4 separate regions of the Homo sapiens genome follow, and all the other regions are linked to region 1. The links are contacts of gene promoters, found by promoter capture Hi-C in human tissues and cell types (Jung and others, 2019). All regions are on one chromosome and are shown on one strand. The core of a region is centred on a gene start or on the middle of the fragment in contact, and the rest is flanking DNA. Distances in the headings are between cores, read along the strand shown. Region 1 holds the start of DECR2 (2,4-dienoyl-CoA reductase 2). Region 2 holds the start of NHLRC4 (NHL repeat containing 4). Region 3 holds the start of WDR90 (WD repeat domain 90). Region 4 overlaps LUC7L (LUC7 like).

What was found. The method cuts DNA at HindIII sites, captures the fragments that hold promoters and counts their contacts. A contact is called where the count stands out against the background at its distance.
Region 2: the fragment with the promoter of NHLRC4 here is called in contact with the fragment with the promoter of DECR2 in region 1 in 1 of the 25 tissues and cell types used here (lymphoblastoid cells).
Region 3: the fragment with the promoter of WDR90 here is called in contact with the fragment with the promoter of DECR2 in region 1 in 2 of the 25 tissues and cell types used here (IMR-90 fibroblasts and lymphoblastoid cells).
Region 4: a fragment that was not itself captured here is called in contact with the fragment with the promoter of DECR2 in region 1 in 1 of the 25 tissues and cell types used here (dorsolateral prefrontal cortex).

Annotation. Positions count from the first base shown.
Region 1 is chr16:400,477-403,905 of GRCh38, forward strand. It overlaps DECR2 (2,4-dienoyl-CoA reductase 2), which reads left to right and starts at 1,409. Exons shown (of 9, transcript NM_020664.4): 1 at 1,409-1,567. The coding sequence starts at 1,488. NME4 (NME/NM23 nucleoside diphosphate kinase 4) reads left to right here. Exons shown (of 5, transcript NM_005009.3): 5 at 1-278. RefSeq lists enhancers at 232-541, 389-974. The HindIII fragment of the contact is 11,138 bases long and covers 176-3,429 here.
Region 2 is chr16:565,437-568,487 of GRCh38, forward strand. It overlaps NHLRC4 (NHL repeat containing 4), which reads left to right and starts at 1,569. Exons shown (of 2, transcript NM_001301159.2): 1 at 1,569-1,639; 2 at 2,035-3,051. The coding sequence starts at 2,612. The coding sequence ends at 2,983. It overlaps PRR35 (proline rich 35), which reads left to right. Exons shown (of 3, transcript NM_145270.3): 3 at 1-93. RefSeq lists enhancers at 1-104, 1,000-1,895, 1,844-1,893. The HindIII fragment of the contact is 8,856 bases long and covers 1-3,051 here.
Region 3 is chr16:647,977-651,212 of GRCh38, forward strand. WDR90 (WD repeat domain 90) reads left to right here and starts at 1,389. Exons shown (of 41, transcript NM_145294.5): 1 at 1,389-1,450; 2 at 1,787-1,878; 3 at 2,015-2,191; 4 at 2,278-2,386; 5 at 2,563-2,733; 6 at 3,019-3,127; 7 at 3,223-3,236. The coding sequence starts at 1,441. MCRIP2 (MAPK regulated corepressor interacting protein 2) reads left to right here. Exons shown (of 5, transcript NM_138418.4): 5 at 144-498. The coding sequence ends at 214. LOC105371038 (a long non-coding RNA gene) reads right to left here and starts at 1,337. Exons shown (of 2, transcript NR_135177.1): 1 at 979-1,337; 2 at 482-639. RefSeq lists enhancers at 1-3, 1,426-2,248 and silencers at 1,424-1,523, 1,634-1,763. The HindIII fragment of the contact is 7,525 bases long and covers 1-3,236 here.
Region 4 is chr16:202,598-205,656 of GRCh38, forward strand. All of the region lies in intron 5 of LUC7L (LUC7 like), which reads right to left. Among named protein-coding and RNA genes, the nearest start is that of HBQ1, 24 kb to the left of the region's middle. The HindIII fragment of the contact is 7,140 bases long and covers 1-3,059 here.

The DNA.
Region 1 (3,429 bases), core at 159-2,658:
AGAGGAGTTTGAGCCACCAACTTCAGTGCCTTTCTGTACCCCAAGCCAGCACAAGATTGGACCAATCCTTTTTGCACCAAAGTGCCGGACAACCTTTGTGGTGGGGGGGGGTCTTCACATTATCATAACCTCTCCTCTAAAGGGGAGGCATTAAAATTCACTGTGCCCAGCACATGGGTGGTACACTAATTATGACTTCCCCCAGCTCTGAGGTAGAAATGACGCCTTTATGCAAGTTGTAAGGAGTTGAACAGTAAAGAGGAAGTTTTGCACACCCAGTTCCATAACGTTGTTGGATGTATGAGCCAGGCAGGGGTCCAGAGACCACCAGCCTGCAATCCGGAGAACCCAAGCTAGGCGCGAGCCGGTGCTGTGATCCCGCCAAAGGAGAAGCTGCCTTCCCGGGGAAGGGGCAGAGAGGGGCCGGCGGGCTGAGGCCAACCAGCGCAGAAAGGGCCTGGCAGCCATTACTGTAGCGCTGGCGGCTCTGTCACGCCCCTGAAGCCGCTGGCCCGCGGGTGTGTTCAGCTCAGGAGCGGCCCTGCGTGTTTTTCCCCCGTGGCCGTCGCGGACCCCCGTCTTCCAACAGTGGTGCGGGCGGGGCGCCCCGTCCTGGGTTCGCGGCATAGCCCCGCCCGGGCCCCCACGCGGAACAGAAGTAACGGACCCTTTTTTTTTTGTTTTTGTTTTTGAAACGGAGTGTCGCTCTGTCGCCCAGGATAGAGTGCAGTGGCGCGATCTCGGCTCACTGCAACCTCCGCCTCCCGGGTTCAAGCGATTCTCCTGCCTCAGCCTCCCGAGTAGATGGAACTACAGGCACCCGCCACAATGCCCGGCTAATTTTTGTATTTTTAGTAAAGAGGGGGTTTCGCCATGTTGTCCAGGATGGTCTCGAACTCCTGACCTCGTGATCCGCCCGCCTCGGCCTCCCAAAGTGTTGGGATTACAGGCGTGAGCCACCGCGCCCGGCCCCGGACCCTTCTTTATTGGCCTCAAAACGGGTCATTTTGGGAAGCGGCGCGGGGCTGGCCGCGCTTCCCTGGGCCCCGGCCCTCCCCATGGTGTTTACGGGGAGGCGAACGGGGAGCCCAGAGGCTGCGAGCCTGGCCTGGACCCAGGAGCCAGGGGTATCCCACAAGTCCTGGAGGCTCTGAACGCGGCGCTGACGCCGAATACCTGTGAAAAAGACTCGGGGAGGAGACCCGCAGACCGCCGAGCTTCTGCCGCGGGAACCGCGCCCCCGGCCCCGCAATGCGCCTGCGCCTCGCGCGCCGACTTCCAGTCCCAGCAGGCCGCGGGCGGGGGCGGGGCCTCCGGGGAGAATTCGGGGGAGGGGCGGGGCCTCCGGGAAGCAATCAGGGCAGGGGCGGGGCGTCCGGGGAGTGGGGCGGGGCTCCCGGTTCCAGGCGAGTTCGCAGCTGCGCGCCGGGTCCTGGAGGCCGAGGCCGCTCCCGCCCGTTGTCCCCGCAGTCCCCGACGGGAGCGCCATGGCCCAGCCGCCGCCCGACGTGGAGGGGGACGACTGTCTCCCCGCGTACCGCCACCTCTTCTGCCCGGACCTGCTGCGGTGAGCGGGGCCTGGGAAGCGAGCGCAGCCTTGGTGCGGGGTCCGGTCCGCGGGCGCCGGCGCCCCCACGTGGTCCCCGAGGGCTCGCGTGTTAGGAAACCTGTCTTGCCTGGCTCCTTTCTTTCTTTTTTCTTTCTTTTTTTTTTTTTGAGACGGAATCTCGCTGTGTCGCCCAGGCTGGAGTGCAGTGGCACGATCTCCGCTCACTGCAAACTCTGCCTCCCGGGTTCAAGCGATTCTCCTGCCTCAGCCCGGCTAATTTTTATTTTTAGTAGAGAGGGGGTGTCACCGTGTTGGTCAGGCTCTTTTCGAACTCCTGACCTCAGGTGATCCACCCGCCTCGGCTTCCCAAAGTGCTGGGATTTACAGGCGTGAGCCACCGCGCCCGGCCCAACCTGGCCTCTTTCTTAACAGAAAATTTTAGGTTGAAATCATTTTTCCGGAAGACCCAGAAGGCCCAGGAATGCCAGGTTTTGCCCAGCAGCTCTTCATTTTCCTGCAAACGCCTTGGTGTTCACAAGAGAAGGCAGCCCGGGCAAAGGTCGATCCTCCCCGGTCACCTGCCCTCACTCGGCTAATGGGCGGATCCTTTTTTTTTTTTCCTTTTCTTTTTTTCAATTGGCAACATTTTCAAGTTTCTATTAAAATTTTGATCTTTTGCCAGGAGCAGTGGCTCACGCCTGTAATCCCAGCTCTTTGGGAGGCCGAAGCGGGTAGATCACCAGAGGTCAGGAGTTCGAGACCAGCCTGGCCAACATGGTGAAACCCCGTCTCTGCTAAAAATACAAAAAATTAGCCGGGTGTGGTGGCGCACACCTGTAATCCCAACTACTTGGGAGGCTGAGGCAGGAGAATCACTTGAACTCGGGAGGTGGAGGTTGCAGTGAGCCGAGATCGCACCATTGCACTGGGCAACAAGAGTGAAACTCCATCTCAAAAAAAGAAAACAAGTTTTAAATTATGTTCTCCAAGGACAGGTATTGACAATTCTCTCTGAGTGTTCTGCAGGAAAAAAAAAAAGTTTTTTTTCGAAACGGAGTCTCATTCTGGGTTGAAGCAATTCTCCTGCCTCAGCCTCCCAATTCTCCTGCTTCAGCCTCAGTGCGCCCAAGTGGGACTATAGGCACACAATACCACGCTGGGCTAATTGTATTTCTAGTAGAGGTGAGTGTCACCATGTTGGTCAGGCTGGTCTGGAACTCCTGACCTCAGATGATCCACCTGCCTCGGCCTCCCAAAGTGCTGGGATGACAGGAGTGAGACGCTGCACCTGGCCCAAAATTAATCTTTAATAATTAAGAATAGGAAAGGCAACTTGGAGATCAGCAAAAGTTTGCCATCCATCTGGTACAGTTTGTGCCAGTCATACCGATCAGTACACATTTAATGCGTACAAGAAAATCTCTAATAAATAAAAAAGCCATATTATCCCGACGTAGCTTGCTGAATCTCAGGTATCATATTTGATATTAGTGCCATGCAGGGCTTAGGAGAGAGGAAATTATAACCTCTATCTTGTTTAAGCCAGGGTATTTTTCTCTCTTGTATCTACTTCTGTCCATTTCTGTCAAAAGACACAGAAATACCCTTTCCCCCACTGCACTTTGCAAGTTTGTGTCAGCACAAGTTCAGGACCAGCCTGAGCAACAAAACGATACCCCTCTCTAGAAAAACTAGATGAAAAATTAGCTGGGCACTCTGGCATGCACCTGTAGTCCCAGCTACTGGGGAGGCTGAAGCAGGAGGATCCTTCTAGCCCAAGAGGTCAAGGCGGCAGTGAGCCGTGATGGTGCCACTGCACTCCAACCTGGATGACGTAGCAAGAACCTGTCTCAAAATAAATAAATAGGCCCGGTGTGGTG
Region 2 (3,051 bases), core at 319-2,818, 170 kb after region 1:
GCCAACGCTTGTCCCTGGGGCCACACAGGGACACTGGAGGTCACAGTTATTTATTGATCACAATTGTGGACATTAAAACAGAAACTGTTCACACACGCCGTCTGTGCCTCCTTCCTTTGGGGCCCTAGTGTAGCCACCTGGACACCCCCCTAAGGAAGTGTCCTGGCCTGGGAGGCCTGGGTGGGCAGCAGTCCTGCTGGGCCTCTGTCTTCAGACTCGGCCCTCTCCTGTGGGCTGGGCCCTCCCCGCGGGGCTGGGGTCTGGGGGTGGGGCGGGACATCGGCGACGGGAGCTGAGCCAGGAGAGCCGTGTGGACTGGGCTGCTCGGCCTGTGTCTTGGTGTGTCGGGGGTGGAGAGGCGTGTGGACTGGGCTGCTCGGCCTGTGTCTTGGTGTGTCGGGGGTGGGCACGGACCCCTGAACATCCTCTAGCCTCTGAATCCAGCAAGGCCGCGCTCATATCAGCTCTCCTGCGGTTAAACGGTGGCCCCGGGGCTCTGTGGCTGGAGGCTGCTCACCCAGCGTGGGCTCTGCTGGCCCCTGCCAGCCCCTGCAGCCGTGATAGGTATCAGCCTTCACAGCTCACTGCCTCCCTCCCAGCAGGGCCTGGCTTGGCCCTCCCACGGGCAGGGGATGGGCAGACAGGGAGGGGCACCCGGGACCCCCACAGCAAATCACTTCTCTCCTGGGAGAGCTGGCCACACCCTCCACGCCCACCCTGGAATGGGCTCTGGAGCCCACATCGCCCCCCCAGGAGGAGAAGCAGTTCCTGCCTGCGTCCAGCCGGGCTGGGGCCAGTCCAAGCAGGCTGGCAGCGGCCCCATTAACTACCAGGGAGATAGCATCAGCCCCGACCCTGCCTCGGGGCAGCTAGAGCTGGGGTGCTGCCTGGCCAGGCGCGGAGTGCTGTGGGGACAGGTCCCAGCCGGGCCCCTCTACCCAGAGGCTTCCTGGAGGGGCTGCAGGGGGCTCTGGGCAGCCAGGAACTGTTCCCAAGTCCCGAGTCTGAGGGAGACTCCCTGTCCTCAGCCCCCGCCCCCCATATGTCCACTGCACCCCATATGTCCACTGCACCTCAGTTTCTCACCCCCACTGAGCAGACAGGTGAGCATGGCCTTGCTGGGGGCAACAGCACCCGTCTCCCAGGTGTGGAGACACGACCTCCTTCGCTGTCACCCGTGGGGAGCAGGACAGGCCTCATGGAGGGTGCCTCAGCCAGCAGGTCACCCGCCTGTGGTCCAGACCCAAGGACCCTGCTTGGGGGTGGCAGCCTGGGGCTGCCTTGCCACTTGGAGTAATGAACTTGCTGGTTGTGGGGGGACCATGGGGGACCCCTGGAGGGGGGTGGGCTGCATGGCATCTGGCCGTGTAGGGGACGTGGGAATAGTGTCCGGGCAGAGGGCGCAGCCTGCAACAAGGCGCGGAGGCAGGAACACCACAGCATGGGGAGTCCTCAGGGGACCTGGTTTTTCTTTCATAGAAGCTTCAGGGGCCAAGGCCGGAGACTGCACTCTCCCTCCTCCACCCGGCCCAGCTGCGTCCCTGCCAGTGGCTCCTCCCACTTCCTCCAGTTCTAGTTTCCAACAACAGAGGCTGCAGCCACCCAGCCCCGAAGCAGGGCCCAGCGAGACAGGGCCCAGGTAAGAGACCCCTCCCCCCGGCCTCTCTCGGTGGGGCAGGTGGAGGCCCTCGGAATAGGCTGCCTCGCCCCTAAGGGGTCAGAAGTCTCCCTGACCTAGGGGCTCGGGTAGAAGGGCTGTGTGTGGGTGACCGCCCCCCCGCCGTAGAAAGGGGTTCCACAGGCAGATGGATTTGAGAAATGTTGCTTATCTGTCTGAGGCCCATGAGCTCATCTGGGGCTCAGGGGAAAACCCACAGCGAGCTCCACGGGTCATGTGTCTCCCAGACTCAAGTCCCAGGCACCTAGACACTAGGGTGGCCGCTGGGCTTGGTGGCCAGGTAGACCCTCAGGACCAGGAGGACCCGGCCTCATAGGAAGAAACTGGAGGAGTGACTTTGCCATTCCCACACACAGTGGGGCCTTATTCTCTCTCTTGCAGCCCCAAGCGTGACCCAGCTGCAGAGAAGCTGAGACGGTGATTCGGACTGACTGGACTCTGGCCTCCAGGTGTCTGCACCTCACACTGGACCCACCTGGAGACTCCACGGGCTCCCGGCAGCTCCGGCTGCTTGGGTGGATCCGGGTGCCCGCAGGGGCTGTGGGAGGGCCCCGGGGCCTGCACTGCTCCCCCGATGGCCTGCTCTTCCTCACGGCCGGGGCTGCACCCTGTGTCCACGTGCTAGATCTGGAGGGACGCCCCATCTGCCTCCTGCCCTGCCGCACTCCGGGGAGCGGGGCCTTCGTTCCAGAGGACGTGGCTGTGACAGCGTCAGGGCTTGTGGTGGTCAGCGATCCCATCCATGGGGCTGTCCATGCACTCCAGCACACAGCCCGGGACCCCGGGGGCCACTGGGTGACAGTGGGCACCTTCCTGTCTCCCCGAGGGCTGGCTGTGGATGCCCTCAACCGCCTCCTGGTGACGGACTACTTGCCTGGGGCTGTGCACAGCTTCTCGTTGGGTCCTGCTTGGGAGCCCCTGGCCCCAGCCTCCATGCTGGGTCTGGAGGGCCCCTGCTGGGTGGGCCCAGGGCCTGATGGGGGCCTTGCTGTGAGTGAGGAGTTTGGGGATGTGAGGCTGTTTGGCAGTGCCCGCCAACCCCTGGGCTCCCTGGGGGGCTGGACGGGGCACACTTTCGGCTGCCCAGCGGGCATCTGCTCCAACTCAGAGGGCAATGTTATTGTGGCAGACGAGCAGAGGCGCCAGGTGACCCTGTTTCCCCGGGCTGGGCCACCCATCTGCCTGGTGTCAGAGGGGCTTGGGCAGCCCTTGGGAGTGGCCTGTGCACCCCAGGGCCAGCTCCTGGTGGCTGATGCCAAGGACAACTCCATCAAGGTGTACCAGGGCCTCAAGGAGCTGGCCTGACCTGAGGCTGGGTTGGAGCAGCCCTCCTGTGCCTGAGGCCAGCTCCCAGGCCCTTGGATCACCGCGGG
Region 3 (3,236 bases), core at 139-2,638, 250 kb after region 1:
GGAGGGGACTCTTGTGCAGAAACCCCTTCTTCCCAGCGCCTGCCGCACTCGGAGTCCGGGTGAGCGGCTTGTGGTTAGCTCCAGGGGAGACTTGCCGGCTGGCCTGGGAGGCAGCATCACTGCCCAGCCTTCTCTGCCCACAGACTTTGTGCCCATTGACCTAGACGAGTGGTGGGCGCAGCAGTTCCTGGCGAGAATCACCAGCTGTTCCTAGTGGCTGCTGGGAGGGGGCGCTGCTACACGGCCGACCTGTCGCCAGGAGAGAAGCATGGCGCCCTGCCCACCCACTGCGCCTGGCTGGGTGCCGGCCACACCTGAAGTGCCAGCATTTGGACTTTTGCACCTTTTTTTCCCTTGGCCCGGCTGTCCCAACCAAGCTGCCATGGCCAAGGGCCGAACCCGTCTGACCTCAGCCCTGCTCACTGTGCCCAGGGACCAGCGACCAGCCCCTGGGGCTGGCAGGGAGGAGCTCCAGGCTAATAAAGTGGAGAAACTGTCTTTTTGGAGTGTCTTTGACTTGGGAGGGTGTAGGGGGGGTTCTCATGTCCAGTTCCAGTCCACAGCCTGGGACGCCAGGCCCAGCACAAACTCCCCTTGTAGCCCTGTTCCTTCAAGCCGTTAGCTTCTCACCCAGCTGCCCTGCGACAGGTAGGAGGGACGTTAGCCAGCCCACCTTGCTTGGAAGTCTGGGGACCCCACTTGGTTCCTCTTTCCTCTCCCGTTGGCGTTGACTGGGACCGAAGCCGAGACTCAAGGCCTAAAGACATTAAATGGCCCCGGAGTGCAGTCCACCACCCCCCACTACCGGCACTGGGGCTGTGTCTCAGAACGCCAGGTCCCATTCTGAATCCGCCGGGCCCGGCCGCAGGACACTGGGCGAAGGAGTACGTGGGGAACCTGATAGGACGAACGTGGGAACCAGCCCCTCCGCGGGCGCCCGCACTACCTTCCCTGATGGACGGGGATGACCCAGCCCACCTGAGTCAGGACCCAGGGTACCCAGGTGTGGAGCAGGGGCCTCTGGACGGCGAGAGAGCGGCAGGGTGAGGCCCGGCCGTCCGTGGCATGGCCAGGCCTCAGCGCGACCTCGCCTCGCTGCTTGCATGCGGCGGGAGCCCCGGCCGGCCGAGGCGCTGACAGGTGGGCGCGGCGGAGGATCCGCAACCGGCGCGGGCTTCGAAGCCGGTCGGGCTAACAGGGGGCTGCCTTGGGAGGCCCGCGGGGCAAAGGGCAGCGGGATTCGCGGCTGGAGCAACCCTGGAGGCCGCTGACGTGAGCGGGGTACTCCCACCGGGGAGGTCACGTGGCCAGGGCGCCGCCATGACGGCGGAAGTAATGGCGGAAGTGGCACCGTTGCCAGGCAGCCGTTGCCTGGCGTCGCGGGGCGTACTCTGCGCTGGGCGCGCGGAGGCCTAGGCGGGAAGCTCGAGCGGCGGCGCCATGGCCCGAGGTAGCGCGCGGCTGGCGGGGGTCCCGAGGATCCCGGGTTCCGGGGTTCCGGGGTCCAGGGTCGGCGGCCGGAGCGCTCAGGGCCCCCGCCTAGGCCCTGAGGCCAGAGTCCCCGCTCAGGCAGGGTCCCGTCTGCCGGGCGCCCACCCTCGGGCTCCCGGAGCTTGGCTTCCCTCGGGCGCCCGGCCTCGTCCCGCCAGCCTAGCTGGCGTTGGCGTCGCCGGGGAAGGCGCGGAGAGCCCCGGCTCCTGCCTGGTCCCCGAGGCCCGGCCCAGCCCCGCAGTGGCCCCGGCTCGCGTGGCCGAGTCCCCTGACGCCCGGCGCCCGCTCCCCGCAGCGTGGCAGCACCCGTTCCTCAACGTCTTCAGACACTTCCGGGTGGACGAGTGGAAGCGCTCCGCCAAGCAGGGGGACGTGGCCGTGGTCACGGTAGGCGGCCGGGGGCTCGCCCGGAGCCCACACCCCTGCCCTGCCCCCAGGAGAGCTGCCCCGCCCCCGAGGGCCCCCTCGCCCCCGCTGCACTTCTTCTGGGTGCTGTCGGTGATGCGGGCTCCCGCTTCTCCAGGACAAGACCCTGAAGGGCGCCGTGTATCGCATTCGGGGCTCAGTCTCTGCCGCCAACTACATCCAGCTCCCTAAGAGCAGCACCCAGTCTCTGGGGCTGACGGGACGATACCTGTATGTGCTCTTTCGGCCCCTGCCCAGCAAGCACTTCGTCATCCACCTCGATGTGTCCTCCAAGGTACGGAGCCCGCGGCTGGGGGCTGCGTGGGAGCCCCGGCACCCCTGCGGCCCCTGTCTCCTCACGGCCCTGCTCCGTCCCCACAGGACAACCAAGTCATCCGTGTGTCTTTCTCCAACCTCTTCAAGGAGTTTAAGTCTACGGCCACGTGGCTCCAGTTTCCCTTGGTCCTGGAGGCCAGGACACCTCAGAGAGGTGACACCAAGATGGGGTGTGGATGATCCAGGACAGGTGGCTGGAGGGAGTTGGTGCAGGCCCAGTGAGGCTCCTCTGCGGCCTGGAGGACAACCTGGCGGGGGCACAAGCTCACAGTTCTGGGAGTCGCGGGCTGTCAGGAGGGTGGGCGCTGACCCTGAGTGCCCATCCTGCAGATCTGGTGGGTTTGGCCCCCTCCGGAGCCCGCTGGACCTGCCTGCAGCTCGATCTGCAGGACGTTCTCCTGGTCTACCTGAACCGGTGCTACGGCCATCTCAAGAGCATCAGGCTGTGCGCCAGCCTGCTGGTCAGGAACCTGTACACCAGTGACCTGTGCTTTGAGCCTGGTGAGGGCCGCACCTGCACTCCCCACTCCATATCTCACCCATGCTCTCAGCCCTGGAGAGGCCCAAGTCCAGGGTGCTTGGGAAAATACAGTGCTCGAGCTGTGCTGTCTCTGAGCTCTGGCCAGAACCCATCCCAGAGGCAGCCCTGGGGTCAGAACCCATCCCAGAGGCAGCCCTGGGGTGGGGCGGTGGCTGGGCTGGTGGCGTGGCAGTGCCTTGGCGGGTGCCCTGTGTTCAGGTGGCTAAACAGCCTCCCTTGACCTGGAACAACCCTGCTCCTTGTAGCCATCTCTGGGGCCCAGTGGGCAAAGCTGCCCGTGACTCCTATGCCTCGGGAAATGGCATTCCCTGTGCCCAAGGGAGAGAGCTGGCATGACCGCTACATCCACGTCCGGTGAGTGGTTCTGCTTCTTTCGAGGGAGGCCTCGGTGGTGGGAGGGTGGGTGGCCCTTGGGCCCCCAGACACTGACTCTCCCTCTGCCTGCCAAGGTTTCCAAGTGAGA
Region 4 (3,059 bases), core at 355-2,854, 200 kb before region 1:
ACCATACAGCCCACATGGCTATACCACCCAGGTTTGTTAAGCACACTCTATAATGTTCTCACAATGATGAACCATGGAACGCACTTCTCAGAATATTTAATCCTTGTCATTAAGAAAGATATGACTGTACTAATATCAGAAATGAAAGACAGGACATCATTACGGATCCACCCACTTTAAAGGAATAATACAAACAACTCTTAAAAACAACAACTCCATGCCCACAAAAGCGATAAACTAGATGAAATGGACCGATCCCTTCAAAGACAGCCAGGAGCAGTGGCTCACGCCTGTAATCCCAGCACTGTGGGAGGCTGAGGCAGGTGGATCACTTGAGGTCAGGAGTTTGAGACCAGCCTGACCGACATGGTGAAACCCCGTCTTCTCTACTAAAAATACAAAAATTAGCTGGGCATGGTGGCAGGCACCTGTAATCTCAGCTGCTCAGGAGGCTGAGGCAGGATAATCAGTTGAACCCAGGAGTTGGAGGTTGCAGCGAGCCATCGCACCACCGCACTCCAGCCTGGGCAACAGAGAGAGACTCCGTGTAAAAAAAAAGTATAATAATGTTGAAAGACACAATCTGCCAAAACTCACACAAGAAGAAACAGATGATCTGAATGAATCTGTATATTAATAACCTTCCAAAACAGAAAGCATCAGGTCCAGATGGGTTTACTGGTGAATTCTACCAAAGCATTAGGGAGCAAATCATGCCAATTCTCTACAATCGCTTTCAGAAAATAGAAGCAGAGAGAGTATCTTCTAACTCCTTCTATGGGGACATTACCATAATACCAAAACCAGATAAAGGTATTACAAGAGGCCAGGCATCATGGTGACTCATGACTCTAATCCCAGCACTTTGGGAAGCAGAGCTAGGCAGATCGCTTGAGCCAAGGATTTCAAGACCAGCCTTGACAACATGGCGAAACCCAGTCTCTCCAAAAAATACAAAAAATTAGCTGGGCTTGGTGGCATGTGCCTTCAGTCCTAGCTATTTGAAAGGCTGAGGCGGGAGAATCAAATGAGCCCAGGAGATCAAGCCTTCAGTGAGCCAAGATCGCGCCACTGCACTCCAGCCTGGGTGAGAAAGTGAGACCGTCTCAGGGCGGGGGGCGGGGTGGAGGTGGGGAGGGCTGGGCGCGGTGGCTCACACCTGTAATCCCAGCACTTTGAGAGGCCAAGGCAGGCGGATCATGAGGTCAGGAGATAGAGGCCATCCTGGCTAACACGGTTAAATCATATCTCTACTAAAAACACAAAAAATTAGCCAGGTATGGTGGCACACGCCTATAGTCTCAGCTACTCGGGAGGCTGAGGCAGGAGAATCGCTTGAGCCCGGGAGGCGGAGGTTGCAGTGAGCCGAGATCACGCCACTGCACTCCAGCCTGGGCGAATGAATGAGACTCCATCTCAAAAAAACACAAAAACAAAAACCAAAAAACAAATGACCAATTACACCAGCACCCGCAAGCATGAAATATTTAGGTAGAAATCTAACAAAACATGCATGAGATCTTCACTATGAGAAAAATTACAAGACTCATAAAAGGTATCAAATGGCCTGGCGAAGTGGCTCACGCCTGTGATCCCAGCACTTTGGGAGGCCAAGGCAGACGGATCACCTGAGGTCAGAAGTTTGAGACCAGCTTGGCCAACACGGTGAAACCCCATCCCTACTAGAAATGAAAAAAAAAAAAAAAAATTAGCCATGGGCCGAGCATGGTGGCTCACTCCTGTAATCCCAGCAGTTTGGGAGACCGAGGCGGGTGGACCACGAGGTCAGATTGAGACCATCCTGGCTAACACAGTGAAACCCCATCTCTACTGAAAGTACAAAAAAATTAGCCGGGCGTGGTGGTGGGCGCCTGTAGTCTCAGCTACTCTGGAGGCTGAGGCAGGAGAATGGTGTGAACCGAGGAAGCGGAGCTTGCAGTGAACTGAGATCGCACCACTGCACTCCAGCCTGGGGGACAGAGCGAGACTCCATCTCAAAAAAAAAAAAAAGAGAGAAAATTATAAGGAAGAGAAAATAAAATACATTTATAGTACTGTGCTGTACTGATCACTTCTGTACGTTTACACTGCTCATTTACAAGATGAATTGTCCGTCTGAAATGGTAGCAACTGCAGCTGCAGACCTCAATCTAATGTATACATCAAGCAACTCAACTTTTTCTTGTAATATCATGGCTGTTCTTGCCTTCTTGGGAGCATTTTCAGCATCACTAGTGGCATATGGATCCTATGGCATTACTCAAAGTTTATGGTATTGCACTAAACACGATGAAAAACGCCTAGGAACCCTGTGAGTTCACTTTTTACTGCAGTAGGAATGTACTGGAGAGGTGAACTGCTCCTTCGGAGATGATGAGTGTCACGTGGTGTTTCAAGGGGATACTCACGACCCTTGAGCTCCACACAATGGCAACAGGAAGTGGCATGAATTATTACAGTAGTACAGTACCTATTACAGTTATTCTTAGGCAGCCCTGATTTAATACTGCACCTCTGCACTACGTTTGTTAACATCTCTCTACGGCGAATGCTGTCATGTATGGTCTGTAAGCGTTTGCATGTAGCCTCTTCTTTTTTAGAGACAGGGTCTTGCTATGTTATCCAGGCTGGACTCCAAAAGTCCTAGGATTAAGGGATCCTCTCATCTCAGCCTCCCGAACAGCTGAGACTAAAGCCAAGAGCCACCATAGCTGGCCATATGCTTAAGTTTTGACAAATGTTACCTTTTCATAATAGACTTGTGTATATTTTATGGCAGTAAATAAAAGACTAGTATCCTCATATATTTTATGTATTCATGACATACCTAACATTTTCTGCAGACTTTGGGTGATAATGACAAGTCAACGTAGACCCACTGACTGTGGGCAGATGCTAGGAATGGAGGAGGCTGTCTGAGGAGAGGGTACATGGAGAATCTCTGTACTTTCCTCTCAATTTAGCTATGAAGCTAAAACTGCTTGCAAAAACAGCGTTTATAAATTTTTTTGAGACAGAGTCTCGCTCTGTCGCCCAGGCTGGAGTGCAGTGGCGCAATC